Regions from separate parts of the Homo sapiens genome. Here all the other regions are linked to region 1. The links are contacts of gene promoters, found by promoter capture Hi-C in blood cells and fetal thymus (Javierre and others, 2016). All regions are on one chromosome and are shown on one strand. Each heading gives the region's core, a stretch centred on a gene start or on the middle of the fragment in contact. The rest is flanking DNA. Distances are from core to core; before and after follow the strand shown. Region 1 holds the start of ROR2 (receptor tyrosine kinase like orphan receptor 2). Region 2 overlaps ROR2 (receptor tyrosine kinase like orphan receptor 2). Region 3 overlaps ROR2 (receptor tyrosine kinase like orphan receptor 2). Region 4 overlaps ROR2 (receptor tyrosine kinase like orphan receptor 2).

Region 1 (7,820 bases), core at 1,623-4,122:
GAAAAGAAGAAGGCATCCAACCTTATGAAAAAATCAGAGAAGAAAAGAAATTCCATGATTTGAGGGAGACAAAGAATAAAAATAAAAATAAATCAGCAAAAATTTGACTAGACATCTGACAAAAGAAGGTAGGCTAACGGCCAATAAGCATAAGAAAAAATATAGAATATGACTCCTCATCAGGAAAATGTGAATTAAACCACATAATTTAACCACCCAGGTCTCAGATATCCCAGGATACCCCTGGCCTTGAAATCTTCACACTGGCTCTTCACTCCAGCTCAAATACTCTTCCCAGATATGTGCATGGCTCCCTCCTTTCTTAAGGCCTGCAAGGGCTTGTTCCCGCCGGTCTTGCTAGTATAGACCCTGCTCATTTTCTCTCCCTCTTGCTTGCTGTTCATCACAAGGATGAAAATGGCTGTCCCCATACAGCTGGTGTGGTGTCAGCCTCCAGTGATTCCTATCTCTTGGTATATATAAACCTGTTTAGTTTCCTTCTATGACAAAGGGCCCACCCATGGAGCCAATAGATACTGCAGAAATTATGGCATGTGACTTCCAAGGCTAGGCTATAAAAGACACTGTGGCTTCTATCTGGCTCTCTTTTGGATTGCTCACTTTGGGAGAAGCTAGAAGCCATCTTGTGAGGATGCCCAAGAAGCCCACGTGGCTACAAACTGAGTCTTCCCATCCACACCTAGCACTAACTTGCTGAGCATGTGAGTAATCCACCTTGTGAGACTCCTCTAGCCCCAGCGAGCCTTCAGATAATGGCAGCACTGGCTGACATCTGACTGCAACCTCCTGAGAGACCCTGAGCCAGCACCATCTAGCTAAGTCTCTCCTGCCTTCTCGACCCAGAGAAATGGTGTGAAATAACGAATGTTTACTGTTTTTAGCTGTTAAATCGTGGGGCAATTTGTTATGTGGCAATTGATGACTAATACAGATGGAAAGGAATATGTTGCTCCAATTTGGCCTTGGACGTAAGCCATATTCTCTTAACCACTGAGAAAGCTTGTATTTTCATCCTTCCAACTTTGCTTTTTTTGTTTATCCTTCAGTTCAGAACCTACAGAAAGGGAAGGAGAGAGTGAGAGAGAAATGCCAAAAAAGAAAGCTTTAAAAGGCTTTTAAGAAATCATATGCAATATAACCCACATTTCTGACTCCACCCAAGAAACTGTCAGCAAAATATATGTTGCTGTTTAAACCTTTGAGTTGGGTTTGTGGGGCCTCAGTCATGTGAAAATAACACACAGATGGGGGCATGATGAGGTCATTTTCCTGAAGGTCACACAAAAATAAATGGCAGGGCTGCTGATGAAATGGTTCTGGAGCCACATGCTCACGCTGTGTGAAGTGGAAAGCAAAGGTGCTGGGACCACCTTCTCCGAGCTGCACAGCACCACGGAAAGGACACAGCATTGCTGAGGGAGGGGTTTTCCAGGGCAGGTTCAAGACCCTTCTCTGCAGCCCCTGTTGGGTTTTCCCTAGATCCAGAAGAGAGGGGTGTGGAACTAAGTGCTTCAGCACCTACTCTTAAAACATTACTCTAAAAGCATCCTTAAGGATTCTAAGGGAAGCTAAAGGGAGGAAAACCCCAAAGATAAACCCCTGGCAGTCCTCTAACCACTGGGGAGAGCAGCCCCCCCGTTCAGACCCGCACCAGCCTGGGCAGAGGAACAGCCTGAGCCCGTCTAAGAAGTTTGGTAATAATTTTGCCATCCAGTTGAGGAGGGGCTAGGATCTTCTCCCATTCTCCTACTGGATTTACAGCAGCTCCTGGGAATGAGAACTGCGTGAGATATTTCCCTACACAAATTGGGTAGAGATAGCCGGACGCCTAAATACTTTTAACAGAGGTAACAAGCTAGAGCTGGCTTAGTCATTTTGTCCGCAGACCATAGCAAGAGAGTTTTTATTTCTGGCCACGTCTGAGGCCTCACGTCTGGCACCCAAGGCCAGGGCTCTCCCTAATGCCCTCCAATTAACAGAGCTTGGTACTCCAGCAAAAACACCAAACAAACTGCTGGATAATCAGTTAAAAGATCAATCTCATGGAACAAGCAACTGAGATGCTGGAGAATCCAATTCCTTCCTCTAAGAGGAAAAACAAAGACATTTGCATGTGCTGAGCAAAACCAAGAATAAGCAAGAAAACATGCTATTTGAATTCCGTTCAAAATGTCTCTAATAAGTGAAGCAAATTCTGCACATTCTGGGCCTCTGCAGAGAACAAATAGTGTTCTGCCTTTAATGGGTAAAATTATACAATTTGCTTTTAACAGTAAACCAAAAGCCGCGGTGGCTTCGGATAGCATCGCGCTCCCGAGGGCTCCCTCCACGCAGCTCGACCCCTGGCAGTTTTGAGCATTTCGGGGGACGCGCTTGTCCCCACCGACCTGGGAGGGCGCCGGTGCCAAGGCGGCCTGTTTGTTTTCCTGAACATTTCCTTTTGCAACTTTCGCTTCTCCTCTTCCTGCCTCACCGCTGGTGTCTGGGGCTGGGTGGCTCTCAGATTTGTCCCGGTGCGCAGTGCAGCCTGGAGTTACTGATTTGTGACCTAGATCCCCGGGTGTGTCGCCCCCGAAAGTCGGGGGCACCCGCTCTGGGCGCCTCTCCTGCGTGGGCAGACCCGCCGAACTCCGGCTGACGCCCCCAAGGCGCCACCTTTGTGTTCAAGCGTTCCGAGGCGCAGGCCCGAGGGCGGGCGCAGGAGGCAGGTCCGGGGCCCCAGCTGCAGCCCCAGCTCCTTGGGTCCCGCCCGCCGCCCGCGCGTTCCCCCGGCAGGGGGCGCCGGCGCAAGCCTCGCTCTGCCCATCGGGGCGGGCGAGCGGGGACCCTGCCTCCTGCGCGCTCGCCCGCGGTCCGCCCCCCGCGCTCGTCCTGGCGGCCGGCGGGACGCCCCAGCCCGCGCCAAGGAACCTCCCCAGCCAGCCCTTGCCGTGGCCGGAGCCGAGCGGCGCATCCGGGCCGGAGAAGAGGACGACGACGAGGTCCTCGAAGTGGACCCGTTTGCGAAGCGCCAGGGAGAAGGAGGAGCGGACGCATCGTAGAAAGGGGTGGTGGCGCCCGACCCCGCGCCCCGGCCCGAAGCTCTGAGGGCTTCCCGGCCCCCACTGCCTGCGGCATGGCCCGGGGCTCGGCGCTCCCGCGGCGGCCGCTGCTGTGCATCCCGGCCGTCTGGGCGGCCGCCGCGCTTCTGCTCTCAGTGTCCCGGACTTCAGGTAGGATCTGGCGTTCCGGCTTGTGCGCAGACGGTAGCTCACGGCTCGCTTGGCCAGCCCTTCCGCCGCCACTATGCTCCCGGCCGCTGCGCCGGCGCCCATGCTCCTGAACGAGGGGCGCCAGGCAGGGCCATTCGCATCTCGCCCGACGCCGCTCCCGGCCCGCACCCCGGACCCCCTCGGGCTGGTTACAATAAGCCGCGCTCTGGGGACGCCTAAGTGTTTCCAGAGTCTGGGGGCGGGCGGCGGCGGCTGGGAGCCTCTCGGTGGCGCTTCCCGAGGGTCGCGAGTGGGAGTGCGAGTGTGAATGTGAGTACCCGCCCTGGGCCCGGGACCCGAGTCCGCAGATGTGCCCCGAGGGTCCCAGGACCCGGGCTTCCTCCCCGAGGTCTTCCTCCTTCAAGGGCACACGGCCCCGAGTGTCCCCCGTCTGTCTCGGAGCGTCCCCCCACCCCCAGGGCGGCCTGATGCCTGGCAGAATCCTGGGGTGGACGTGGCCCCGGAGAAGCGGCTCTTGCGGCGGGGGTGGGGGCGCCGGCGGCTCCCGGGTCCTGACTTTCCCAGCCCGCGGGCCGCTTGATGGAAACGGGCTCTTTGGCATCCCTTTTGTTGGTCCCTGAAACCTCCTCTCCCCCACCGCTCTGGGGTGGCCGAAGTGGTGTGTGATCTGGATTGAAATGGTTTGTGACTGGGATCGCGGGTCCCTGAGCGGCTGGGGCGCGGCCGCCTTCTGGCCGCGCCGGGGGGACCCCCGGGACCTGTAGGAGGCTGGCGGCGGGAGGGGCGGGGCCCGGCTCCTAGGTGGGTTTCCTCCCGGGGCCCCACTTCCCCCGAGTCCCTGCGCGGTTTCGGCTGCTTGGATCCGGGGCGCAGAGGAACGGCGGGGAGGTTCGGAAGTGCAGCTTGGGACCTGCCTAGGTTGCCTGGAGGAGGCGGCGTTAGCTCTGGCGGTGCAGACTCCGGGAGCACCTCCCGCCCGCGCGCCTCGGGCCGGATTCTCGGCACCCTGCGGGGGTGGAGGAGGGCGGGCGGGGCCTTCAGGCCCAGGAGCGCCAGAGACCTATGGGGTTCGCCTGAAGCCCCCGGAATGTGTGAGACACTTCTTACTAGTAAATGGGCTTCAGTATCCCCCATCCCTGCACTCCTGCAGGAAGGTGAGAATCGGGACAGTCGCAGGCTGGGAGACGCTCTGCTTTTCCTGCGTCCTGCTGGGAGCTGCGCGCTCCAGGTATCCTGGCCTGCCGCCCTAGCCGGCCCAAGGTACGCGAGTCAGAAAGGCTGCACAGTCTTTCCTGGGGGGGGGTTTTAGTTTAAGCAGATGTTGATTACGTCAGACATTCCTAATTACTTGATTTGGGAAGGGAGCTTGCGTTTATCTCACTGTGCATTAAAGCATAAACCGCTCAGAGTGCACAATAAAATAAGTAGACCACATTCTAAGTTGGTATCCATCACTCAAGACCTCTGTCGATTTCTGCAACCCCTCCCCCAAGAATCTCCCAGGAGATCCCTTTGCTGGGGGAGAGGGGTGGCGGGGAGGCGGCTTAAACACGTTGCTGGACGTGCTGTTGGGCGGCTTTTGCTGTTCACCCTGCGGTTAATTGTCCTACAAAAACTCTGCCTTGCAGACCATGAGGGTTGAGCGCAGCCTTTGAGGGGCGGTGCTGTGGTGGGGGTTTTTAGATGGGTGATGAGGAAAGCATGATGGGTCCATTGCTTAAGCCAAGGTGGTTGTAACAGGAAAGTTCCTTGAGTTTTGGGTGAAGGAATTTAAACACTCATAGTTTCCAGTGAATGTACAAATGTCTTATATGAACAAAGCAATTGGAGTCGTTTTCTTTAATTTTTGAACCCTGTTCTTTTTCTAGTGAAATACTCATAATCTTTATAGGAGAGGGCATAGGATATAATTCTCTTCGTTCTGTATGGCTAGGTTAACAAAATCCAAAGAGTATGATAATTTTTATTCAAAATAATAATAAAATTATATGATTACAGGAGATTTGAGTGTTTGGGATCTTTTCTGCTGTGAAAAGAGGAGTCCCTGTTATTTGAGTGTGTTTTATCCACGAAATAATTTATTATGTAAAACTATTTAGGGGTTTTTCTAAAAGGATTTGTAAGTTCTTATTCCACATTTTAATAGCAAGACTCTGTTTCCTCTGATGACAAATACTGATTTGGGACTATATACCAATCCTAGGTAGGGTAGGTGGGGAACGATGGAGCATTAGGGTCCCCCCAGCCCCCATTTTTGGCAGTGTAGTGTTTACTTTTGGCCCAGATCCCTGGAGTGATGGTGGTAATAAATAATGATAGTGATCCGTCTAGAAGAAATCCATCTAGAAGAAAATAAATGGAAACATCTTGAATAAGAAGACTTTGTGGAAAAAGAAAAGTTTTTATGTATATAGTAAGGCAACATATTTTTCTTATTACGGCTGTGTACCAAGCACAGAGCTACACATTTGAAATTTTTCAGTATAATTGTGAGATCCTGCTTAACTCTCATGTCCACTTCATAAAGCATGTCACCCTGAAAATCTGATCGCCGTGGACCCTATGTGACACTCAGTGTAACTGAGAGGGCTCTGGAAAGCCAAGCTGAACTTTTAATTAGTAAAGCAAATCATGGAAAACTGACAAGTCTGCTTTATATTTTATATGTAAAAAAGCAACATGGGTTTTTTAAAATGTGCGTTTTCCAGGGGTAGTTTTTGGTGACTGCTCTGCAGATTTTTAAGGCAATGTTAAACAACATTTTTATTTTTATTGTGAAACCTTTTTTTTATTGTTTATTCAAAGTGCTGCTGTAATTGGTGTTTGTATGTCTCTCTCTTAAGTGTGGTTTGCAGTGAATCACTTGTTGCCCCTTAAACAGTTAGCCTGGATTTAACCTCCAAGAGATTAAGTCTGGCAGAGTCTGAATTTTACACTGCTCTTTTCTTTGGAAGCTCTTCTGAAATCAGTGGAATAGAAATACAGGGGTACGAACAGCTCATCTGACAGGTAGGGAAGATTAATCCCCTTTAGAAAGGTTTCAGCTGGTGGACTGGCACTCCTTTAAAATGCATTCCCTGAGAGGCCAGGATGGGAAAAGTTATTAGTGAAATGGGAACTGGATGTGAAGGACTTGAGCTCCCTAATCTGCAGGACCTGGCTAGTCTGTTGTAGTGCTGGAAATTTGTGTACTCTTTGTAATCCTTTCCCTTGGAGAGTTCTAATTATATAATTCCACATTGTAGTCAGGGAAAAGAAAGTTAACGCTACAAACTGTTACTCCTTCCCAGGGTTTATAACCATCTTCTAAAATGGTTCCTTGATGACAGGCCTTTCCTTTTGGTGTTTATCTGGTTCATTCCCTGGGAACCTGGAGGGGACACTGTGAAGGACTCCCTCCTCCTCCTCTTCCACACCCCATCAGCGTCTTGTGGTTTCCACGTGGTGAAGGGCTGGGCAGCCCAATTTTGGGTTTACCTTGAGGTGCCTCCTTGGGGGCTCCTCGGGGCGGGCTCTTCCTTGCTCTTGCCCATTGGTTGTGACTCCATACATTGTCATTAGGATATTTCCTTTTTGGGAGCCCCGTGGTGACCACCAAGTGGAGAATACCAAGCATGTAAGGTTTCAAAGTAAAGAAACCAGGGGGCTTTGTTTTGCAGTGGAAGCATTGCTAGCTAGGTCTGGATTTTTATTGGTTGCACCCCAGCTGCATGGCCAATAGCAATTTCATGAAGGGACTGTTGGGTTGAAGGGACTGGCTTTGAAAACATTACTTCTCAGTGACCCTTTGGGCTCTTAGGTTCTGCTTTGCCCCACAACACCACCATAACACTGTTGAGGCTTTCAGTGGGTAGTGTGGGCTTCTTGAGTTTTGAAAGTAAAAATCCAAGCAACAAGAGGCGCTCCAGCCCATTAATTATAGCTGCAACTGGCCGGGGTTTTGTAGCAGCCGCCTTTTTCTAGCATGTATTTATTTGGTTTTGTTGAAGAGCTTGCCAAGTTGGAAACGAGGGCGGGACAGCTTTGCTTGCGTGTGCAGTTGTCATAAAATATGTCTGGGGTGTAATCTGTTTAAAATCATATTCGTAGAGTGGCCAAAGAATTGTTGAACAGTGTTGGGAATTTTCATAAAGCTTTTACAAAATAGGGAATTTTATTGGTGTGGTTGGCACTGTTTTTGGGATTTCTGTGGGTGTTTTCTTTTTAAGTCCTATCTCTGAAAAAAGCAAAAAACTCAAAAGCTAAAGGGAAGGAAATAATTACAGAAAAATGTAGCTTAATTCGACTAAGTAGCTTGGTCCTCTAGAAATCCTTAAGTTCTAGTGGGAAGTGGTGTGTATGTCTTTAATTGTCGCTGGAATGAGCTTCAGTAAGCACTCTGTCACTTTCTAGATGTTATCAGAGGAGAATGTGGCGGCTGCTTCAAGTCCTCCTGGAGTGGGGGAGGGTTCCCCTAAATCCCAAATACTCCTAGCCTAATGGTTTCCACACCCTCCTGGAGGGATAGTTAACACAATGGGCAGTTAAAATAAGGAAATGTTTAGGCCTGAACTCCTCATTGTAGGCTTGTGCTGTGGAATATAGTAG
Region 2 (7,820 bases), core at 2,050-4,549, 210 kb after region 1:
TTCAGCCGTTCTCCATCCAGATGTTTGTGACCCGGGACTCCTTGTTTTCAAGTCTGACTTATCTCCCCAGCTCCAGCCCCATATGTTTCACCCACATAATGAGCCTCTCCAGGTGGATGATTTGAAGGCACCTCTCGCCAAGTGGATGATTCGAAGGCACCGCTCGCCAAGTGTGTCTACACGGAATTCGGCCAGCTGCCAGCCCAAACTCCTTCCATTGCTATTTTCGGGGAGTTTTCATAAGTCTAGTTCAGAGTTTATCCTAATTACAGGAAAACAGCACTATAAAATTGAAAGTGCCAAGTAAGAAGCTGGTAATTAGAAATGACGTGAGCAGAAACCAGGCCAGGCCAGGCATGGTGGCTCAGGCCTGTAATCCCAGCACTTTGGGAGGCCAGGGCGGGCTGATCACTTGAAGTCAGGAGATGGAAACCAGCCGGGCCAACTTGGTGAAACCCTCTTTCTACTAAAAATACAAACATTAGCCAGGCGTGGTGGTGCGTGCCTGTAATCCCAGGTACTAGGGAGGCTGATGCCTGAGAATTGCTTGAACCTGGGAGGTGGAGGTTGCAGTGAGCCGAGATCACACCACTGCACTCCAGCCTGGCCAACAGAGCGAGACTCCATGTTTTAAAAAATAAATAAATAAATAAACAAACAAAAAAACCAAGCCACCTTATTGCTGACAAACTCAGGCAAAAGGCTGACATTTGGCATTTGATATTAAAGCCCTCAGACCACCAACCTAATCAAGTTCAACTTAATTCAGACAGAACTTGAAGGAGGGAAGCCAGTCTAATTTTTTTCTCAGTGACATCTTTTTATGGTAAGTTCTGTTTTCTAGAAAATACAACTTTCCTTAAATCCCATAGTACAGAACCGGAATAAAAGCTAGAAACTGAATTTAAGGTTATGTGATACAAGCAGTAGGTGACTAAATAGACAATCATCAGTAAGATAATTCGAGAATAGATACACATTTCTAAATGCAGACTATAGGCTGGGCGCGGTGGCTCAATGCCTGTAATCCCAACACTTTGGGAGGCCGAGGTGGGCGGATCACCTGAGGTCAGGAGTTCAATACCAGTCTGGCCAACATGGTGAAACCCCATCCCTACTAAAAATAGAAAAATTAGCCAGGTGTGGTGGCACACACCTGTAATCCCAGCTGCTTGGGAGTCTGAGGCAGAACTGCTTGAACCAGGGAGGTGGAGGTTGCAGTGAGCTGAGAGCGCGCCATTGCACTCCAGCCTAGGCAACGAGCAAAACTCCATCTCAAAAAAAAAAAAAAAAAAAAATAGGCTGGGCATGGTGGCTCATGCCTGTAATCCTAGCACTTTGGGAAGCCAAGGTGGGTGGATCATCTGAGGTCGGGAGTTTGAGACCAGCCTGACCAACATGGAGAAACCCCGTCTCTACTAAAAATACAAAATTAGTCCGGTATGGTGGCAGATGCCTGTGATCCCAGCTACTTGGGAGACTGAGGCAGGAGAATTGCTTGAACCCAGGAGGTGGAGGTTGCAGTGAGCCGAGATCGCGCCACTGCATTCTACCCTGGGCAAAAAGAGCGAGACTTCGTCTCAAAAATATATATATATAATATAATTAATAAATAATAAATGAGACCATATGGTGACACAGGATATTTGCATTTCAACAATAATGAAAATGTGCACACTTGATGTGCACTCACACATGGAATGCCGCTTTAGGTTGTTTTGTTTCCACCCGAGCCCGTGGATTCCAGGGGCTAGCTCTTACACCATATTATGCACAGTGAGAGCCTTTTACCAACTGACTTCAGGGTTTTTCAAGGATACAGCAACCTTCCAAGGGGGAAAGTGTTTGGCTTACCTGGGAGGGACTAGCCACCTGAACAGCGTAGGGGAAAATAAAATTTACTTCCCAGGGAACTGGCACCCTCAGAGCCATTGTCTTCTCTGCCTCTGGCCACCTTATGTGATCCTGGCCTTAGAGGTGGCCATTGCAAAAGCCAGTATTTCCAAGGTTCTGCTGACTTGGATTTTTATGATATCAAACATTGGTGTTGGGCATGTTTAGTTGGATCAAGTGGATGTTTTTGCCACATCTGTTATCAGTACAGTCAGATATTCAGAGTATTTCATTTTGGAAGCAGAGAGTAATATACAGCGTCTAATTCTCAAGGAAATCATTCATTCAGTTAACACATTTCAGCTTCAGCTGGGCGTGGTGGCTCACGCGTGTAATCCCAGCACTTTGGGAGGCTGAGGTGGGCTTATCACCTGAGGTCCGGAGTTTGAGACCAGCCTGGCCAACATATGATGAAACTCTATCTCTACTAAAAAATACAAAAATTAGCTGGGTGTGGTGGTGACTGCCTGTAGTCCCAGCTACTTGGGAAGCTGGGCAGAAGAATCAACCTCCAGGAGGTGGAGGTGGCAGTGAGCCAAGATCGTGATACTGCACTCCAGCCTGGGCGAGCGACAGAGCAATACTCTGTCTCTCAAAAAAAAAAAAAAAAAAAAAAAAGTTAACAAATTTCTGTGGAGGGTCAACTGTGCGCCAGGTCCCATTCAAGACATTGAGGATACAACAATGAATGCAACAGATAAAAACTAAAAATTCCTGCCTTGTGCTGTTGACATTTTGTTTGGAGACTCTTATGTCTGGCCTCTTTCATTAAATGTAATGTCTGAAAGATTTATTCTGGTTAACTATACAGCACTTCATTCCTGTTTATTGAGAAGTATTCTGTTGTATGAATGTACTACAATATGTTTATTCACCTATTGATGAGCATTTGGGGGCAATTATAAATAAAGCCATGAACATTTGTTTTCACATATTTTTGTGAACATGTTTTCATTTCAATATTGTGATTTTTGAAGTTTCAAGTGTGGAGGCCTTGGACATCTTTTGTTAGGTTTATTCCCAGGTATTTTAACCATTTTCAAATATAGAGTGCAGTGGCATTAAATTAACCCCAGTTGGTCCATGGGCCTCTTTAGTATTGTCTGTGTTTATTTTGCTGGATTCAGTTTGCTAATGTTTTGAGGAGGACGTTGCCCCTTTTGATGGTAGGCATTTTGGTCTGTAACGCTCTTGTGGTGTCCTTGTTAGATACTCTTGTGATGTCCTTATCGTATTTTTCTTTTCTTTTTTCTTTTTTTTTGAGATGGAGTCCTACTCTGTCACCCAGGCTGTAGTGCAATGGCATGATCTTGGCTCATGGCAACTTCCACCTTCCAGGTTCAAGCGATTGTCCTGCCTCAGCCTTCTGAGTAACTGGGATTACAGGCACGCATCACCACGCCTGGCTAATTTTGTATTTTTAGTAGAGATGGCGTTTCACAATGTTGGCCAGGCTGGTCTTGAACTCCTGACCTCAAGTGATTCACCTGCCTCGGCCTCCCAAAATGCTGGGATTACAGATGTGAGCCACTGCACCCGGCCCTTATCATATTTTTCTGATGTCCTTGTTAGATATTTGTATCAGAGTTGTCAGTCTTTTTGTCTCTTTGCTTCAGTTTGGAAATCTCCTGTTGATCTGTCTTCAAGTTCATAGATTTTTTTCTTCTGCTGTATCCACTCTGTTATACAGTCATGCATCATGTAACAGTGGAGATACGTTGTGAGAAATGCATTAGTGATTTTCTCCTTGTAGGGACATCATAGAGTGTACTCACACAAACCTAGATGATTTCCCCTACTGCACACCTAGGCTATATGGTACAGCCTGTTGCTCCTAGGCTACAGACTTGTACAGCATATGACTATACTGAATACTGTAGGCAACAGTAACGTAATGGTATTTGTATATCTAAACACAGCAAAGGTACAGTAAAAATATGGTATAAAAATTAAGAAATGGTACACTTACATAGGGCACTTACCATGAATGGAGCTTGCAGGACTGGAAGCTGTTGCTGGTGAGTCAGTGAGTAAGTCGCGAGTGAATGTGAAGGCCCAGGACATTACACATTACTGTACACTACTGTAGACTGTGTAAACGCTATACATTTAGGCTACAGTGAGTTTATTAAAAATTGAGTAATTGCACTACAGTGTTATGACAGCTCCGATGTCACTAGGCGATGAGGATTTTTCAGCTCCATTGTAATCTTAGGGGGCCACCATTGTGTATGTGGTCTGCTGTTAACCAAAAACATCGTTATGTGGTGCATGGCTGCACCATCCAATGAATCTTTTATTGTAGACTCTTATGTTTCAGTTCTAGGCTTCCTGTTTAGTTCTTTTATAGTTTCCATCCCTCCTGAAATACCCCACATCTTCACTACACCTTCTTCTGTGTTTTCCACATCTATTACTTTAAAGCCCTGTGATACGGTTTGGCTGTGTCCCCACCCAAATCTCAACTTGAATTGTATCTCCCAGAATTCCCACATGTTGCAGGAGGGATCCAGGGGGAGGTAATTGAATCACCCACATGTAGCGGGAGGGACCCAGGGGGAGGTAATTGAATCATGGGGGTCGGTCTTTCCTGTGCTGTTCTTGTCACAGTAAGTCTCACGAGGTCTGATGGGTTTATCAGGGGTTTCCACTTTTGCTTCTTCCTCATTTTTCTCTTGCCGCTGCCAATGTAAGAAGTGCCTTGTGCCTCCCACCATGATTCTGAGGCCTCCACAGCCATGTGGAACTGTAAGTCCAATTAAACTCCTTTTTGCTCACAGTCTCAGGTATGTCTTTTATCAGTGGTATGAAAATGGCCTAATCCAACCTGCTCTGCTGATTCTTACATCTAGGTTATCTTTGTGTTTGTTTCTCTTGACCACGGGTTATATTTTCCTGTTTCTTTGCATGTCTGGTAATTTTATTGTATAGTGGACATCATGGTTTGTATGCTAGGTTTTGCATTCAAAGTAAAGAGTATTGAGTTTTGATACAGCTGCATATTAGCTTACTGTCAGAGCACCCAATGCTTAGGGAGTTTTTGCTTTGTGAATGTGGCTGGTCTGCTCTGTCTCCTGGTGAGTCACAGATTGAGCTTCCTCTGCTTCACCTAGGCAGGCAGCCCATTTAGACAGTCAGCCTCTCTCATAATAAGATAAACAATTATGAGAATGGGTTACTACTTTGTAACAAAACAATTAGGGGAAAATGTTAACTTCCTATGCAATATGTAGCTACATTTGAATTTTGACATGGATTCCTTTTCAACCTTAAAAAAGCCTTAGTTTCCTTTAAACCTCCTTCATTATTAATACCCATGAATTTTTATTCTCAGCATGTGTCATCTAGGGGAAGGCTGTGGATCCCCACCATCTTGCCAGTCTTGGTGGAGGAGCACCTGCCATCACAGTCTGCTGGCCCCTGCCTCTGTTTCTCCCTGATCTCCTACCCCTCTCCTGTTGCTTTTCTTACCCAGGGTTGTCATTATTTTATTATTATTATTATTATTATTATTATTATTATTATTACTACTTGAGACAGAGTCTTGCTCTGTCACCAGGCTGGAGTGCAGTGGCACAATCTCTGCTCACTGCAACCTCTGCCTCCCGGGTTCAAGCGATTCCCCTGCCTCAGCCTCCCGAGTAGCTGGGACTACAGGTGTGCACCACCACACCCGGCTAATTGTTTGTATTTTAATAGAGACGGAGTTTCATCATGTTGGCCAGGATGGTCTCGATCGCCTGACCTCATGATCCACCCACCTTGGCCTCCCAAAGTTCTGGGATTACAGGCGTGAGCCACCGCACCCGGCCGAGTTGTCTTTATTTAGCACCCTCTCTCCTCCCTGACAATCACTTCTTGGTGTAGAAGTTTCTTCTTCATCCATGTCCCGTCAGGCCTTGGATCAGTGCCTGGCAGCATGAGGGGCAGGGGATTTCCACACTTCATTTCTGAAACGTGGATGCTCCACCAGCTGGTGAGCATGTCTACTGCACTTACGTTGCTGAAGGAATTTTATAGCTGCCAAATTCCGTTTCAGTCCTTTCCTTGCTTTCCCAGGGATCCACTTAACAGACTCTCTCCAGCTCTGTTCCTCTTCCAAGGCCCCAAATGTGCCAGATAAAGATAAAATATAATTGTTGGAAAATAGAAAGCAACTCCCATAGTTTTCTCAGACAATTCAAAAGCAAAGATGCCATTTTCCAAGCACTTCTATCTGGCTTTTTGGGGATATATATATGTATATATATATATACATATATATATTCCCCCCCCCGCCCGAAACAGAGTCTTGCTTTGTCACCCAGGCTGGAGTGCAGTGGCGTATTCTCGGCTCACTGCAAGCTCCGCCTCCTGGGTTCACGCCATTCTCCTGCCCCAGCCTCCCGAGTAGCTGGGACTACAGGTACCCACCACTACGCCTGGCTAATTTTGTTTTTGTATTTTTAGTAGAGATGGGGTTTCACCGTGTTAGCCAGGATGGTCTCGATCTTCTGACCTTGTGATCCTCCCACCTTGGCCTCCCAAAGTGCTGGGATTACAGGTTTGAGCCACCGCGCCCAGCCTGGATATTGTCTATTCAGATTGAAAGCCCGCTTCGGTGAGGGAAGTGTGAGCGGGGTATGATGGCAGGAGCACCCTCCACCCCAGCACCCCCTTGTCATCTTCCTTACATCCCTTGCTCTCTCTGTCCTGTGGGCACCTGACCAGCGGCCAGGGAGAAGCCTGCAACAGGGGGAACAACCTTCTCTTCCTTGACTCTTGCAAGGTAGAAAAGAAATGGCTTACACTTGTGGGGGCATCCCAAGGGACTGATCTGAATCTCATAGCTTAGGCATAGCTGACATTAATCTGATCAGGCATGTCTTAATGATTTTTCTAGCAGAGTGGACAAAGCACCCTGAGCCCGCCTCCAGACAGGGACATGTCCAGCACATACCCAGGCAGAGGTGACTTCCATTTATGTTGGTAGTGTGGCCAGTGTCTAATCAGCAGTTAACTCCAGTGCAAAAAGAGTGAAAGCTGGGCAGGCAGGCTCGCATTGTTAACACATGTGCTGCCTATTTAAACTACCTTTAAGGAACCCTTAACCCAAGGAAACAATGGCTGGTGAGCTGGAGTTAACACCAAAATCTCTTTCTTGAAGTATTTATAGCTCCAGGTTCTGTTCTTTGAGAAAAGGGTTTTCTGCAGAAGCTTGAGAAGGTCTTCACTATTGCAAGTGTTCAGCCTCTGCCTTAGCAAGAGAGTTCAGATAGGGATTTTAAATCCATGTGGTTAAACTGAACACATTCTTTTTTTTTTTTTTTTTTTTTTTTAAATTTAAAGACAGGGTCTTGCTCTTGTCACCCAGGCTGGAGCCCAGTAGTTTGATCTCGGCTCACTGCAGCCTCTGTCTCCCAGTTCAAGTGATCCTCCCACTTCAGCCTCCTGAGTAGCTGAGACTACAGGCACACGCCACCACGCCCAGCTAGTTTTTGTATTTTTTATAGAGGTGGGGTTTCACCATGTTGCCCAGACTGGTCTCGATCTCCTGGGCTCAAGTGATTCACCAGCCTTGGCCTCCCAAAGTGCTGGGATTACAGGCACGAGCCACTGTGCCTAGCCTTAAATTGAACAGAATTCAGATTTCATTTGGGGATGGTCTACTCTAAATGGATGTAGAATGGAAAGCCGAGTGCTCTCAGGCTTATGGGGTAGGTTCCAGATTTTCTGGAAAACAAGCTACAGGCTTGAGGTGCTCATGCAAGGCTTGTCCGAGCATCTTCAGTCCCCTCTTCTGCCAGCAGTGGCAGCCCCCGATGTGTCTGCTGTGGCTCATTGGCGTCAATGGACCTTTGGAGGGTCCTGAGCACCACTTTAAAATCCTCCAGGATACTTATCATGATGGCTTTCATTGGCTGAAGCCAGACCAACAGTTTCTGCAG
Region 3 (7,820 bases), core at 4,062-6,561, 190 kb after region 1:
TGGCCCCTAGAGAATCGATGACGTTGAAAATGGTGGACCAGACTCATTTGGCAGCCCTCCCACATAAATTACATATGAGTGCTCAATAAAATACTAGTAAAAGATGCAAATGCTTATATGAATGTGCAAGGGAGGTGGAGAAATGCCCAGGAGCCAGGAATGGAAAGGAAGCAGAATTATAAGTGACAGCCCTGGGCTGCCGCAGCAGAAGCCACTTGAGGTAGCCCACTACGTTTGCAGCTTTGGAGAACAGCCCAATTTTCCTAGGTCCTCAAAAAGAGTTTATCTGAGACCAAGGGCCGAATTCTGAAGGCGTCATGGAGTTGTAACATGAGCTCACCAACAGTGAAAAGTGGTGTCACCACATGGCCGTGGCACACATGTGGACGTGTCTGTGGGCCACAGAGCAGAGAGGGCACCAAGACGTGGACACAGCAAATCCTGCAGGGCTTTAATGTCAGAATAGGCTCGGGAACATAAATGCTACACTTGAGAATATGCAGGGATAGGGAAATCCTGATGGAGAGTAAATGAAATAAGAAACCTAAAGTTACTGATTTCACTTGGAATTGGATGTACTAAGTTTCTTCTAATCAGGAGAAATGAGGGACTAGGAGAAAAATCTAGCTTGGTTTTAGGAAAATAAAGGAATGTGCATTTTTTGCACCCTGATATAAGGCCTATGAAATATCATCTCTAATATAGAAACGATTCTGCTAGGTCCAGTTTCATCAAGAGCCTTGGGTTTCCACACCAAGCCACGAGGGAACCCATGGGCTCTACAGAACCAAAGCTTTGTTGACAAGCTTACCTGTGAAGCTAGGAGACCTGCGAGCTGCAGTCCTGGAGAAGAGGGATGAGCACATTGCCACAGGGTCAGCCCCTGGAGGTCAGATGAGAGATTTCCTCCACCCTGGCTCCAGATGGGAAACACAGAAGGCTCTCCCATGAGAAATCAGTTGGGACTGGCATCTCTGGAAGCCAGATTTACATTACCAGCATGCTATAGGAAATTCCAAGCCAAAAAGTTAAGATAAAACTTGGCACTGCCTGTCAAGGGAACCCAGTCCTCAAGGGATTCCCTCAGAAAAACCAGCCTTACAATAAAAAAATTACACAGCACACTTGTCGAGGCCCAGGATGAGTGGCAAGCTAGTAAACAATGAAGCCAGAAGGATTAAAGATGAAAGGAGGAAACAGAAACCACATAGAAGAAAAAGCAGTGGTGGATTTGAAAAGGAACCAAACAGACCTTCTAGAAAAGAAAGATATAGTCCATGAAATGAGAAACTTGATGGGTATGTTACAGGGTAGATGCACACAGCTAAAGACAAAAAGGGTAAGGAGTATTAAAAATAGGGAGAGAGCACAGTGGAATTATCATATGAGGAAAACCAGCATATACCTAGAAGGATATTTAATATTTTATGAAATACTGATAGAGGTTTTATAGAATTGACAGAAAGCACAAATCTTCAGATTTGAGGAAGAGCACTGAGACCTGAGGAGGCTAAAATAAAAATAAATTTACTATTAATGATAGACAATTTGGAATGGCAAAGACAAAGGAAAAATATTGAAAATAGCCTAAGAAGGGGAAAGTTCAGAATACTTGCAAAGGGAACAAGAACTGCAGGACTTCCAACAGTCACCATAGAAGCCAGAGGACAGTATTGCCTCAAATTCTATACCCAACGAAACTATCATTCACGTGTGAAAGTCATGGATGTTTTCAGACCAAGACTAAGAGTGTTTGCAGCCTTAGTCCTTTACCCAAAGAATGAATGTTATTCAGGATGAGCTCAATTGAACCTAAGAGGAAGGAGTGAGATGCAGGATGTGTTGGTGAGGAAAGAAGTTGGTAGATCTCAAAATACTCTGACAGTAAAAATAACAATAATTGGAGGCTTAAAATCAGAGTGTATCTAAGCAGTAGGAAGCAGTTCAATGTGTGTGGTGTGTGTGTGTGTGTGTGTGTGTGTGTAAGTGATTATAGCTCATAGCATTTAAAGTCTTTTGTAATTGGGGGACTTTGCTAAATTAGGTAAGCCTATAAAAAGTAGTTAAGCTAGCCACTTATGTATAACTTTCAAATAAGCAGAGGGGAAAAATGGAGCATTTAAAAATCCAATAGAAGATAGGAAAGAAAAAATAAAAGGCAATGGAAATATTAAAAATAAAACTCATCAGTTAAAAATGTAGACTCAAAATGTAAAATTATATGCCACTTATAAGAGTTATATCTAATACAGAATCATAAAAATGATAAAGATATTAAAAAGATAAAAGTAGGGCTATGTTAACCAAAGGTTCCCTGAGGATGGCTATAATAATATCAGATAAAATGATTTTCTAGGCAGAATTGTTGCTTAGTGATGTATGGACCAAATGATGTAATAAAACTGAAGTTGGGAATGCATCCAGCCCCATCATTTCCCATATATCAACTCAACTTGACAGAATTACTAAAAGCTATTTGACAAATGCAAAGTCTTTGAATCTAGTAGATAAACATATTAAAAATATGAAAAACAAAATCAACAAGCTTGATCAAATGGGCACTTAAAACTCTGCCATGAATGTAGAATAAGCACATTCTTACTACGCATATGTGGACCATCTTCAGGAAGCCGACTCTGCGGAGCATATCTCAGTGGCTTCAAAGAATTGTGATCACACAGACCATGTTCTGTGACAACAGTGCAATTAAAGCACACTTTAAATAACTCATAGCTAAAAGAAAAATGTCATAAGATATATTACACAATATTTGGGTCTGACTAATGATGTGAAGATTAATTAATTGGATGGCTAAAGAAGAGTGGAAGGAAAATTTTACACTTAATGCATACATAGAAAAGGAAAAAGATATAAAATGAATTAACTACAGAAGTTGGAAAAAGCATCAGAATAGAGAGATGAACAGGCAGTTACACAAGGGGAGCCCCAATGACGAGAAATATTCCAAAGGATGTGGAAGCTCACGAGGAATTCATAAGATGCGAACTAAAACTGTAGCGCAGCACCTATCAGATTGGCAAATATTTTAAAGCACCCAAACACCAAATTCTGGCACAGCTGTAGGGAAGCACTTTAACTCAGATATTGTTAGTGAAGTACAAATTGTTTCAAGCACTTTTGAGACTCAGATCAATGAAAGATTTCAAGACTCTATGACACCACATCCAAGTGGATACTTTTTTCCCCTTCCAACTTTCATTTTAGGTTCGGAGGTACATGTACAGGTTTGTGACATGGGTAAATTGTGTGCCGTGGGGGTTTGGTGTACAGATTACTTTGTCACCTAGGTAATGAGCATAGTACCCAATAGGTAGTTTTTTAATCCTCACCCTCCTCCTACCTTCAGTCCTCCCGTAGGCCCTGGTGTCTGTTGTTCCCTTCTTTATGTCCATGTGTACTCAGTGTTTTATTCCCACTTATAAGTGAGAACATGAGGTATTTGGGGTTTTGTTCCTGTGTTAATTTGCTTAGGGTAATGGCCTCCAGCTGCATCCATGTTGCGCAAAGGATATGATTTTTTTTATGGCTGCATTGTATTCCATGGTGTATAAGTACCACATTTTCTTTATCCAGTCATGTATGTACTTTTGAGAGACTCTTGTATATGCACAGGACAAGACATCTATATAGGTGGTCATTAAATGTTACAATAGCAATAATGTGGAAATAGCTTACAGTCCTTCAACTGGGAAATGGATAAGGAAATTGTGGCTTGTTTGTATAATGGGCTATTCTATTACACAGTAATTAAAATAAATGGAGCACATCAACCAACATAGATGGGTGAAATCAACTAGCAAATATGACCTTTCAGGGAAAATTTCTAAAAGCATAAAATAATATAAATATGCATTGGAATGATGCATACAAGTTCTCTGGAGAAAAATAAGCAAGAGTAGGTTTTGGTTGCATTCTAGAATTTTTTTTAAGTGTTCAAAGTGAAATATGGGAAAATTAATGTCAAATCTTTATACGTTTTGTTCATGGTTATTGTTTGATAGCTGTGTTTTTTCTGTATGTTTGCAGCATTTTAGCATTTAACATTTTTAAATCAAAAAAGAATGTTGAAAAAACAATTAGGCAAAAAGATATGGGAGATATGAATTTTGAAAGCAAAAAGGTTATGTTATTGTTATTTGAGGAAGATGGTATCTATGTGGAAAATCCAAGGCAATCAACTCAGAAACTGTTATAACTAAGATAGCTGAGTAAAGTGGCAAGATCTTTAAAAACTTGCAAATGGGATTAAGTTAATTATTTTGAGAAAAGAGGATCATTCTCTCTTATCCGGGTAGGCCCAGTGTAACCACAGAGGTCCTTAGGAAACCGGGGCTGGAAGACTGGATTCAGCAGTAGATGTGACAATGGAAGCAGAGGGTGGAGTGATGCAATGAGGAATCACTGGCCAAGGAAAGAGGGGGTCCCTAATGTTACTGAAACACCGGGGTTTGGTCTAGGTCCTGCTGCTCACCACACGGAAAGCCAATCACTGAGACAACAATTATTGCCAAGAAAGAAGGCTTTAATCCGGTGATGCAGCTGAGGAGATGGGAGCTCAGCTTCAAATCCATCTCCCTGTCTGATTAAAATGAGGGCTTTATATAGCAGGGAAGAAAGGTAGCTATGTGTGGGAAAACAGGAACATGGAAGGGGTAAGGAAGCCATCCTGATGATGGAGGGGCCTAGTGTCTTATTGTCTGGATGTGATGTGATGATCTGGTGAGTTTCAATTCTTTGATACTTTTTTGAGAGGTCCTTTCCTGAGGAAGGGTCAATTTCTATGTTTATCCAAAAGAACTGTCTATGGCAGTGGTCCTCAACCTCCCAGCCATGGACTGGTACTGGTGCGTGGCCTGTTAGGAACTGGGCTACACAGCAGGAGGTGAGCAGTAGGTGAGAAAGTGAAGCTTCATCTGTATTTACAGCCACTCCCTATCAATTACATTACCACCTGAGCGCCACCTCCTGTCAGATCAACAGTGGCATTAGCTTCTCATAGGAGCTCAAACCCTATTGTGAACTGTGCATCTGAGGGATCTAGGGTGTGCGCTTATGAGAGTCTAATGCCTGATTATCTGTCACTGTCTCCTGTCACTCCCAGACGGGACTACTAGTTGCAGGAGAACAAGCTCAGGGCTCCCACTGATTCTACACATTATGGTGAGTTGTATAAATAAATAGAAATAAAGTGCACAATAAATGTAATGCTCTTGAATTATCCCCAAACCAAGGCCCCTACCTCAGGCCATGGAAAGATTATCTTCCATGAGACTGGTCCCTGGTGCTAAAAAGACTGGGGACCACTGGTCTATGGGACTGTTGGGTTGGTTTCATTGGAAACCTGGCAAGGTTTGAGGAAAGCAGTTCTCACACAGAGCCTCTAGAAGGAAGGCAGCCCGTGTCACATGGATATGAGGACTTTGACCCCCATAACTGTAAGATGAAAGATATGTGTTGCTTTACACCCCTGTTTGTGGTAACTTGTCACAGCAGCCACAGGAAATTAGTACACTATGTAGATGATTGCTATCTAATAGTTTCCCTATAAACCTAAAGTCATTTAGACAGAAATAATAGAAAAAGTATTTACAATAGTAAGAAAAATTAGAGAACAGCTAGAAATCTACCTAAAAATATATGTGAAGATCTATATTAAGAAAATTACAAAGCTTTTCTGAATACTTCAGAAGGTCTGAAATAGATACATAGACCATGCTTTCTCAATATCATGAAGTGGGTAGTTTTATGCAAATTATCCATTAAAGTCCTACTTTTAAAATGGAACTTGCTGGGATGATTTTAAAATTTAGAAGAGAAAAGTAGCAATGAAATTGAGAATATTGCCCTCAAAAAGTAACAGTTGTTTTTCTTTTCTTTTTTTTTTTTTTTGAGACAGAGTCTCGCTCTGTCACCCAGGCCGGAGTGCAGTGGCGCGATCTCGGCTCACTGCAAGCTCCGCCTCCCGGGTTCACGCCATTCTCCTGCCTCAGCCTCCCGAGTAGCAAGGAGTACAGGCGCCCGCCACCTCGCCTGGCTAATTTTTTTTTATTTTTAGTGGAGACAGGGTTTCACTGTGTTAGCCAGGATTGTCTCCATCTCCTGACCTCATGATCCACTCGCTTCGGCCTCCCAGAGTGCTGGGATTACAGGCGTGAGCCACCGCACCTAGCCCACAGTTGTTTTTCTTAATGTCCAAACGTACTTCAGTCATCATAATTTAACAAATGTGATGTTGCCACAGCAACAAGCCAAGTGATTTAGTGGGGAGGGGAAAGGCAAGGTTAGAAGTGAATAGAGCTTGTTTTAGATGGGCAGCCAGAAAACACCTTCCATGGAGGGGACATTTCAGCAGGTGTGATACATGAGAGACAGCAAAGAACACTGAGGAGTGGCCTTGGCCAACTGAACAACAAGGAACCAGCTTGCTGTGCTTTGGAGAGAGCAAGGGACTCCCTGTCCAGTGGGGAAGAAGTGTGGGGAGGTTAGAGAAAAATTTGGGAGCGTTGATACTGTGGATATAATCTAGTTATTCTCCATTATCTGTCTTTCTGATTTCTTTCTGAAGGCTCAATTTTACTCACCTACTTGGGGAGACAGCTGTAAATTATCAGGTTACCTAATGATGGCCCCATCTGAGTACTGGTCCCACTGAGCTTCCAATATAATGTGAAGATGGCTGCCTCAAGGCCTGGCTGGAACGTGGTGCTGTCCGTGAGACTCTATCCTGGTCCCTTCCCACCTGGGCAGGCCTTTATATGCCACTGCCTCAGCACCTTCCCAGGTATAGCTGCTGGCCATTTAGCAATATTCTTTTCAATGCTAGTCTGGCCAGAACACAGTGAAATGATATGCTGGGATGGGCAGCCCAGATTATATCAAAACCACCACTTCACATCGTCACAGCAGATTAGATACTGCATTCAACAGAGAAACAAAGACATGGGATCCAGTAGACGGGAGCATGGGGAATGCAGATTCCCCATGCTGTGCCTGTATGGTTGAGTTAATGAAGATCATACATACAGAACTTTACCCTGCCTGATTCAGCCTATCTTTTTAAAGAATTGTCATCAGCATTTTAGTGACCTTCCAGCTTTATGTTGTCAATAAGAAGTACCTTCTATAACTTAATTCAGTGAATGGAAAAGGGTTGGCTAGGAGAGTATCCAGGTAGAACCTAATGATGTTAATAATAATTATAAGTAGTGGTCTCTGCTCATTAATGACTACTCTGCAGACAGGTGCGTTTCCACTGTCCCGTGAATGAAGACCGTCTCCTCATCTTAAATCCACCGCCTGGCTTCCCCCACCTCTCCATCACCTCCACCTCCACAGATGCTGGAGGATCCTACAACACTTCTTACCCTTAGGGTTCACTAGAAATACTATAATTTTCCGATTAAATCTGTAACAACAGATGCCTGCCATCTTTCAACTTCACTTGAAAAGAAAGGATCAAGGCCAACCAGAAATGAGCCAAAAGATTCAGAACATGGATGTATCTGTTTTGAAGTCATTTTCAGATTGCTGTGTTGTTTTAGCTTTGTCTGATGTAAGTTCATGTTGATGATTAACTTTCTTGTCCAACATTAGTTTTCCCTACATGTTACATTAACAGAATTGTATTTGCATGTTCCTCTTAAGAGACGGAGTAGTTCTCCAGCCTCTTGACCACACCACACACCTGCGTGTGCAGGCACACACATACATGTGCACCACACAAACACCACACATGCATACTCACACACATCCCTCCTCCTTTGTCCCTTTCACTTCCCCTTGTTCCCTGTAGCCTTGCG
Region 4 (7,820 bases), core at 1,828-4,327, 170 kb after region 1:
CAAAACCAGAATAGCACCATGGACTCAAATCCAAGGGCATAGGTGAAACTTCATTAATAAATGCTTGCTTAATGGTGTGACTGCTGTTAATGAGAGAATGATTGTGATACTAGAGGTAGAGCCTTGGAATCAGAACAGACGTGCTTGCTACTTTGCAGATATAAATTTATCTTTTTTTTGAGATGGAGTCTTGCTCTGTCACCCAGGCTGGAGTGCAATGGCACCATCTTGTCTCACTGCAACCTCCACCTCCCAGATTCAAGTGATTCTCCTGCCTCAGCCTCCCAAGTAGCTGGGATTACAGGCACCTGCCACCACGCCTGGCTAATTTTTGTATTTTTAGTACAGATGGGATTTCACCACGTTGGCCAGGCTGGTCTCAAACTCCTGACCTCAGGTGATCCACCCGAGGCCTCGACCTCCCAAAGTGCTGGGATTACAGGCATGAGCCACCACGCCAGCCCAATTAATCTTATCTTGTTGATGCCATAAATCAAGATGTCACATCAGAGGTCTGTGTTGAAAGAAGGTTTTCAGAAGAGTTTTGTTTGATGGTTATATAATTTCTTTCTTTCTTTCTTTCATTTTTTTTTTAGACGGAGTCTTGCTCTGTCGCCTAGGCTGGAGTAGTGTGGCGTGATCTCGGCTCACTGCAAGCTCCGCCTCCCAGCTTCACGCCATTCTCCTGCCTCAGCCTCCCGAGTAGCTGGGACTACAGGCTCCTGCCACCATGCCCGGCTAATTTTTTGTATTTTTAGTAGAGACGGGGTTTCACTGTGTTAGCCAGGATGGTCTCGTGATCCACCCGCCTTGGCCTCCCAAAGTGATGGGATTACAGGCGTGAGCCACTGTGCCTGGCCTGGTTATATAATTTCTAATTCTTCAGAATCTGCACCTCCAGCTATTGCAGGCCTGATGTGACTCTCTTAACAGCAACCGGGCATCATCCCTATCAACAGTGAACCCTTTCACTTTGGCCATTCTGTAGACACCAATTGGTTCAGCCTGGAATATACAAGACATTCATAAAGTGCTTCCAAGAATATGCTACAAATTCCTGCTTAAGAGCTGATGTCTCCATGCCAATGACAATTCCTGTAGGACTCAGCTGAAAAATCCAACATTTTCCAAAATGTTTTAATTTCTAAATATTTGCCAGCATGCTGTATAAATCATTGAATAACATATTAAATCCAGTGAATCTGTGTCAGATTCTGTTCATAGGGTTAGGGTGCATACTTGGCTTTGAGGCCATTTACCAGGGATTGCATCATTAAGAATGTAAAGTATTGGCCAGGCACGGTGGCACGGTGGCTCATGCCTGTAATCCTAGCACTTTGGGAGGCTGAGGTGGGTGGATCATTTAAGGTCAGGAGTTCGAGACCAGCCTGGCCAACATGGTGAAACACTACCTCTACTAAAAATACAAAAATTAGCCGGGCGTGGTGGTGGGCACCTGCAGTCCTAGCTACTTGGGAGGCGGAGGCAGGAGAATCGCTTGGACCCGGGAGGCAGAGGTTGCAGTGAGCTGAGATCCCACCACTGCACTCCAGCCTGGGCAACAAGAGCGAAACTCTGTCTCGAAAAAAAAAAAAAAAAAAGAAAAGTATAAGTGTTTGGAGGTAGAATGTTTTATGCAGTTCTACTTGTGAGCCTTGGTTTTAAGGGATTGAACAAGGTGATGGAAATGTGTAATTGTTCTTCAGTAAGCTTTTTACTTTAGTTTTAGATTTATAGAAAAGTTGTGATGACAGTACATAGAGCCCCCACACACCCCACACCCAGTTTCCCCTATTGTTAACACCTTACCTTGGCATGGTACATTTGCCCCATAATACGGGTGCATTATTCTTGACTAACGTTCACACTATTCATTTTCCCTTAGTTTTTACCTAATATCCCTTTTCTGTTCCAGGGTCCTGACCAGGATACCACATTATATTTAGTCTTTGCTTCTAGAGTGTCATGTGTGTTTTTGACATGGATAAAACTAGATATTGAATGTGTCATTTCATTATACCAGCCACACTTAAATTTTTGTTTCATATTAAATGTTTTCCTCTCTTTAAAAAGTATCAAAAAACTAAAAGAAGCTTATAAATCACTACTCCCCTACTCATCTACCCAAGGGTTGAGTTTCCCTCTGGCTTCACCTCGCCACTCTGTGATGTTTTTACAGTGAAAATGACCCAGGTCCAGCGGAGAAAAGTCAGGGCACTGTGCCTGTCATACGGATGACATTCTTGATGGTCATGTAGGGCACACTTAAGAGCATTTTACCCAAACGGAGGACGTGTGGGTTTGGCTAGAGTAGTGTCCTCATATTCAGGAGAAAAATATATTGAAGTCCTGAAGAGTCAGGACAGATGAATCTCCTCTCAGAATCTCTTTTCTGATGGTCCAGAAGGCCACGTGGCCTCTTCTCTTGCTCCTCCAGCTAAATCCAGGCAACTAACGAGGACAGGGACCTTGCCTGGTGAGCTCATCATCTAGCTGGGGTGCAAGGGTGCCTGCACCAGGTGAAAACCGAAAAGGCCTTTATGTAAAGAATGACTCAGGACAGGCACCGAGGAGATGTTGCAGGGCGCACGACCGTGATCATTCACCAGCCATATCGGGTTGGCAGTCACCACCAAGGCAAGTTGTGGTGTTGTGAGGTTGTCACAAAGTCATTCGGTCAGGAACGATGATAGCCCATTAGGTGCAGAAGCACGTGCTCAGTATGTGTACCCATTGCAACATCCGTTGTGGTGGCCCCTAAACTGGCCAAGTTGAAAGTGTTCCCTGATCCTGCGAGTCACCAGCCATTCCTCCCAGCTTGTGTGCAGCAGGAGTGAGGGCATGTGCAGGTCTCCTTACCAGGCCAGCCTGGCTGCTCCTAAATTGCCCCACCTTGGGAGCAGCAATCCTAGTAGCTCTGGCATTTTGGGGTAGTTCCTCCCTTTCATACTTCAGTCATCTCTGCGGCCTCATGTATGTTTTCCACATCCCCTTCTCCTTGTGGAGACAGACCCCCCGAGTCTGGGAAGTGGTCTGAGTGAGCCAAATTAATGGCCTTGTTTACTAATCCCGTGGTACAGCATGCTTTCTTCTTTTTTTTTCTTTTTGCTACTACAGGGCATGCATTTTGAAAAGTATAATTATAAAATTGATGCTTGTTTAGAATACTGCATATTATATGATTTCATTTATAGAAAATGTCCAGAATAGGTAAATCCATAGAGACAGCAGATTCGTGGTTACCAGGGGCTGAAGGAGACAGGATAGAGTTGGCGGGGGGATGACTGCTAATGGGAATGAGGTTTTTTGGGGAGATGATGAAATGTTCTGGAATTTCATAGTGGTGATCGTTGCACAACCTTGAGAATGTACTGAAAACCACTCAATTGCACACTTTAAAATGGTGAATTTTATAGTGTGTGAATTATGTCTCACACACCATTAAAAAATTGATACTTGTTCACAGTAGAGCCATTTAAATGGAAATAAAAGAAATTTAAATTACCTATAATTCCAGATAACTAATAATAACATTTTGATGATGATGATGATGATGATGGGGTGTGTGTGTGTGTGTGTGGCAGTTTTGTTGTTATTATTTCCATGTTTTGTTTATTTTGGAGGAAAGGTGGTATTCTTAGCTCTTTTTACGGGTTAGGAGAAACCCTATTGGGTTCTGCTGAAAACACTGAGCCCTGTTTTCACTTGTACCCATTCTACTAGTTCACATACTTCCTGTCACATTTTGCTTATTGACTTTAGAAGGCTGCAGTATCTGGAGTGAGCCCAAACTATGTAGTATAGGAAGATAACACTTTAAAATTTCGAAATATAAGTGGTGTCTTAGTTTCTCAGATTAGCAATAACAACCTAGTTTTGTTGAAACTTAAAGTGTCAGTTCTAAAGATCTCGTGATTGGACATGCTGAGTTTATTAACCACATTTGACTGGCAGAGGAAGTGAAATTTCCACACGTGAAAATGCCTCCATTTCTGAATTAGAAGCTGACTTGGGAAGAGCTAGGACTCTTTTCCACAGGGAAATTGGGCTAGTGAAGCTTATTTTTCTTTGGGGTATGTATTTATTTGAGTGTTTCAGACCATTTGTCAATTTCTAAGCAGTTAATAATTTTTGTCTCTTTTCGATGTGTGTATATAGTGCAAGTATGTTTGATTTCATGTGGTCTCTCTACATTTAAACAGTGCTGAGTGATGGTGTGTGTAATGTGCTGATGTAAAATTTCAAATCCAAACTGAAGTCTTTAATACTTCAGCAGAAGTCCATGGACTGCCTTGCATAGCTGATGTCAGCCTCTGTTATGTAGCAGGAGGTGCTTCTGTCTGGGTTTCCATGATGGGACCACTCGTCCTCCCCCAGGGGTGCAGCACCAGCTGTCCCCATGTGGTTTACCTATTGTTGAGGAAGAGTAAAATGCATGCAACTGTTAACCTGAGGAAGAATGGTAGGATTGCCCCGGGAGAGGTGTATGGTTTGCAGGGAGACTTAGAGAATAGAAACTTTTCTTCTAAATGGCTGGTCATGGACATTTTATGAAAGATGGCTCAGGGCTTGGCTTTTGGGGACGGGTAAATTTGGACTAGAAATGATAGGAAGAATGGAAGTGAAAAGCCACAGCGCCCATTTATGTCCTTTACATTGTGGGGTGGGTACTTGGCTGCTGCCAGTGGGTCTGGGGATGGGGAGGGGAATGAGTTGCTTAAGAAATTCTCCAACTCTGAATTTATTACCCAGTTACCAGGACCTCCATCTGGAGGGCAGTCTGCGGCATCTGGCTACAGAAGTGTTTGATTTTGCCAGCCAGTGCTTTGGTTTCTTTCTCTCCCTCTCCTTCCCGCTCTCTGTCCCTCTCTGAATGAAGCCCAGGCTCCACTGACTTATTTCCATACCTGTGTTGCAAAGCCCCCGCATTTGCTATTCTTGTGATAAGCTTCAAAATCACTTTTACTGTTACATCATATCTTTATATCACTATAAAATCCCTCTAGAGGTTACCATAATGTCTTATCCCTCTGTGTTTTCTACAAATACTGGGTAGTTTTGCTAGAATGCTGTTGTCTTTGCATAAGAAGCAAATTAAAGGCTCCTGAAAGGAAAACTTGTTTAATACCTATCCTGGTTTCTTTTTCCCAGGTGAAGTGGAGGTTCTGGATCCGAACGACCCTTTAGGACCCCTTGATGGGCAGGACGGCCCGATTCCAACTCTGAAAGGTGAGCTGGGACATGCAGGTGCTCTCCATGTCCTCCAAATGCCCTGTGCTGAGGCTCATCTTGCACTGCCATTGCCTGAAGGAAGGCGCTGGGGGTCCTCTGGCCCCTTGGTGCCCCCTGGTGGTGGGTATGGTGGAATGCCACCTTGATTCCTGTGTTTCTTGACTTGGAGGGCATTGAGGGCCTGTTGGGGCCACAGGTGGGAGGTGACACGCAGGGAGGCATGGGTGGACAGATGGCGGCCTGGCAGATGGGGAAAGGGCCTGAGCGGAGCCTTAGGAGCTGGATTCCTGTTGCATGTGACTCCAGAGGTGTGTGTACGTCTCAGTGGGCAGATGGACGGCCCTCCTCCTCCCAGCCACCTGGAATTCTGTCTTGTGGCTTCAGTTCTTCCCCTGGGCCTGTGGTCAGAGCCATGCTCACTTGGCACACCTTGCAGGAATGCACCATAGATTTGTAGGGTCAATAGAACAAGTTTCCCCCGGATGCAGACCTGTGGCTTGAGGAACTGACGTGTTTGCTAATGCATATAGTGTTACCCCATAGCCACAGATAGCCTGTCTCAGTCAGCTCAGGCTGCCTTAGCAAGCACCACAGACCAGGAAGCTGAAACAACACACACACTTCCTAGTTCTGGAGGCTGGAGGTCCAAGATCAAGGTGCCAGCACAGTTGGGTTCTGGAGAGGACCCTCCTCCTGGCTTGCAGGCAGCTGCCGCCTTGCTGTGTCCTCTTACGGTGGAGAGACAGAGGTCTGTTTGATTCTCTTCTCATAAGGACACTATTCCTGTCATGGAGGCCCCGCTGAAACCGACCCAATAGTCCTATAGGCGGTTCTTTGGGATAAACAGAGAAATTGACCCTTCTGGTCTTAAAGTTTGAAACTTACATTTGTTTTATCTTGACTTCCTTCTTCAGGAAAAGGATGCCCAGACCCCTCAAAAAAGTATCGAATCATGCTTCTCCAGGCCCTCCTTCATCATGTCTGCTTCCTTACCCCTCCCTAGTTCCTGTTTTCTCACACATAGTTACATTTCTTCTCTGATGTATAAACCCCAAATTTTAGTCCATTGGGGAGATGGATTTGAGACTGAGTTCTCATCTCCTTGGCTGCAGCACCTGATTAAAGCCGATTAAAATCCTTTTCCTTGGCACTGCTTGTTGTTTCAGTGATTGGCTTTCTGTTTGGGGAGCAGGAGGACCTAGACCGAATCCCGGTGTTTTCATAACACCCCCATCATGACCTCATCTAATCCTAATTACCTTCCAAAGGCCTCACCTGCAAATATCATCACATTGAGGGATAGAGCTTCAACTTATGGGTTTGGGGGGCACCACTGCTCAGTCCATAACAATCAACTGCCAGAACAGCCACTTTATTTCTGTCCAATCTACAGAGTGGCTCTGCACAGCTTCCTCATGGAGGTCAGTTGTTTAAAACCAAGAGCAGGTGGAGCTCTGCCCAGCATGCAGGGTGGCAGTGAGGCTGGTGCCTGGTGCTTGGAGGCTTAAGAGGATTCCATCCTCTGTAGGATGTTAAATGTAGTAAACGCATGCTCTGAAAGCTTGTTTAGTACACTGGCCTTGGGGACCACATTTCCTTAGGAAGAAAAATAGTTTTTGTTGGTTAGATTCTCAACTTCTTTCTCAAAAGCCTGACTTAACCCACAGTGCAGACAGACCACAGATACTTACTGATTGTCCCCATAGCTGGCTCTGCGCAAGATCCTAGGACGTGTTGGCTGAACTGTGCTCTCTGCTGTGTGGATTTTACAGGTCTGGGGAAAGGCAAGCTGTCAGGTCATGATAAAATTCTGAGTTGTGGCCAAGTGGCCTAAAGGAAGAGATCAGGTTTTGGGAGGGTAGAAGAGGAACACATCTCTTGATCTGGGCACAGATGGTTGTGCTGAGATCTGAAGAGTGGACACTGGCCAAGTGAAAACGAGAGGGAAGTGTGTGCGAAGCCCAGTGGGGGCCCTGGGTCAAGCGGGACTTGGTGTCATGGTGGTACCGCAGGGGAGATGCCTGGCTTATGGGCTGGGGCAAGGTGGAGGTCAGAGTCAGCCGGGGTTGAACCCATGAATCTCAATAGGGCAGCTGGAAGGCTCTTGAAATTCAAGTCAGTTAGAATAAATAAAATTACGATTTCAGTTCCTTGGTTGTACTAGCTACATTTCAGTTTGGCAAGAGGCTCCCACAATGGGTAGCACAAATCTAAAACGTTCCAGTATCACGGAAAGTTCATGGGGCAGCCCTGGGCTACGCCCTGCACAGCACTTTAGGTCCTGGAATTTGTGTTTGATTGTCGGTTGTTGAGGGCGTCTGGTGTCGGGGGTGGTGCAGTTTGATTTACTCTGTGAAAAAATCACACGGCAGCTGTGAAGCACGGTTTGAGGAGAAGCAGAGGATGCAGTTGAGGGGGAGGGGGCGAGTGATGAGAAGCAGACAGGCCATATTAACGGCCGAGAATCCAACTTGAGTCATTCCATAGACTCTGATATTTCCTTGGGAAAATGTATTGCAGTCCTTTGTTTCAGATGCGCTGCAAACCTCTCACCCGGGGGCTTCCTTGTGGGCCTGGGGCGGGGCTGT

Evidence for each region. The method cuts DNA at HindIII sites, captures the fragments that hold promoters and counts their contacts. A CHiCAGO score of 5 or more calls a contact.
Region 2: a contact is called between a fragment that was not itself captured here and the fragment with the promoter of ROR2 in region 1, in 1 of 17 cell types (M1 macrophages). The highest score is 5.0, in M1 macrophages.
Region 3: a contact is called between a fragment that was not itself captured here and the fragment with the promoter of ROR2 in region 1, in 5 of 17 cell types (megakaryocytes, M0 macrophages, erythroblasts and 2 more). The highest score is 6.7, in megakaryocytes.
Region 4: a fragment that was not itself captured here is called in contact with the fragment with the promoter of ROR2 in region 1 in 8 of 17 cell types (megakaryocytes, erythroblasts, fetal thymus and 5 more); the score reaches 24.9 in megakaryocytes.

What each region holds. Positions count from the first base shown.
Region 1 is chr9:91,945,280-91,953,099 of GRCh38, reverse strand. It overlaps ROR2 (receptor tyrosine kinase like orphan receptor 2), which reads left to right and starts at 2,872. Exons shown (of 9, transcript NM_004560.4): 1 at 2,872-3,233. The coding sequence starts at 3,137. RefSeq lists silencers at 2,299-2,593, 2,707-2,886 and enhancers at 3,080-3,579, 3,580-4,081, 7,388-7,820. The HindIII fragment of the contact is 6,243 bases long and covers 1,126-7,368 here.
Region 2 is chr9:91,738,905-91,746,724 of GRCh38, reverse strand. The region is part of intron 4 of ROR2 (receptor tyrosine kinase like orphan receptor 2); the gene reads left to right. Among named protein-coding and RNA genes, the nearest start is that of MIR3910-2, 110 kb to the right of the region's middle. The HindIII fragment of the contact is 7,584 bases long and covers 1-7,091 here.
Region 3 is chr9:91,758,724-91,766,543 of GRCh38, reverse strand. The region is part of intron 2 of ROR2 (receptor tyrosine kinase like orphan receptor 2); the gene reads left to right. Among named protein-coding and RNA genes, the nearest start is that of MIR3910-2, 130 kb to the right of the region's middle. The HindIII fragment of the contact is 762 bases long and covers 4,931-5,692 here.
Region 4 is chr9:91,773,150-91,780,969 of GRCh38, reverse strand. It overlaps ROR2 (receptor tyrosine kinase like orphan receptor 2), which reads left to right. Exons shown (of 9, transcript NM_004560.4): 2 at 5,152-5,229. Among named protein-coding and RNA genes, the nearest start is that of MIR3910-2, 140 kb to the right of the region's middle. The HindIII fragment of the contact is 1,964 bases long and covers 2,096-4,059 here.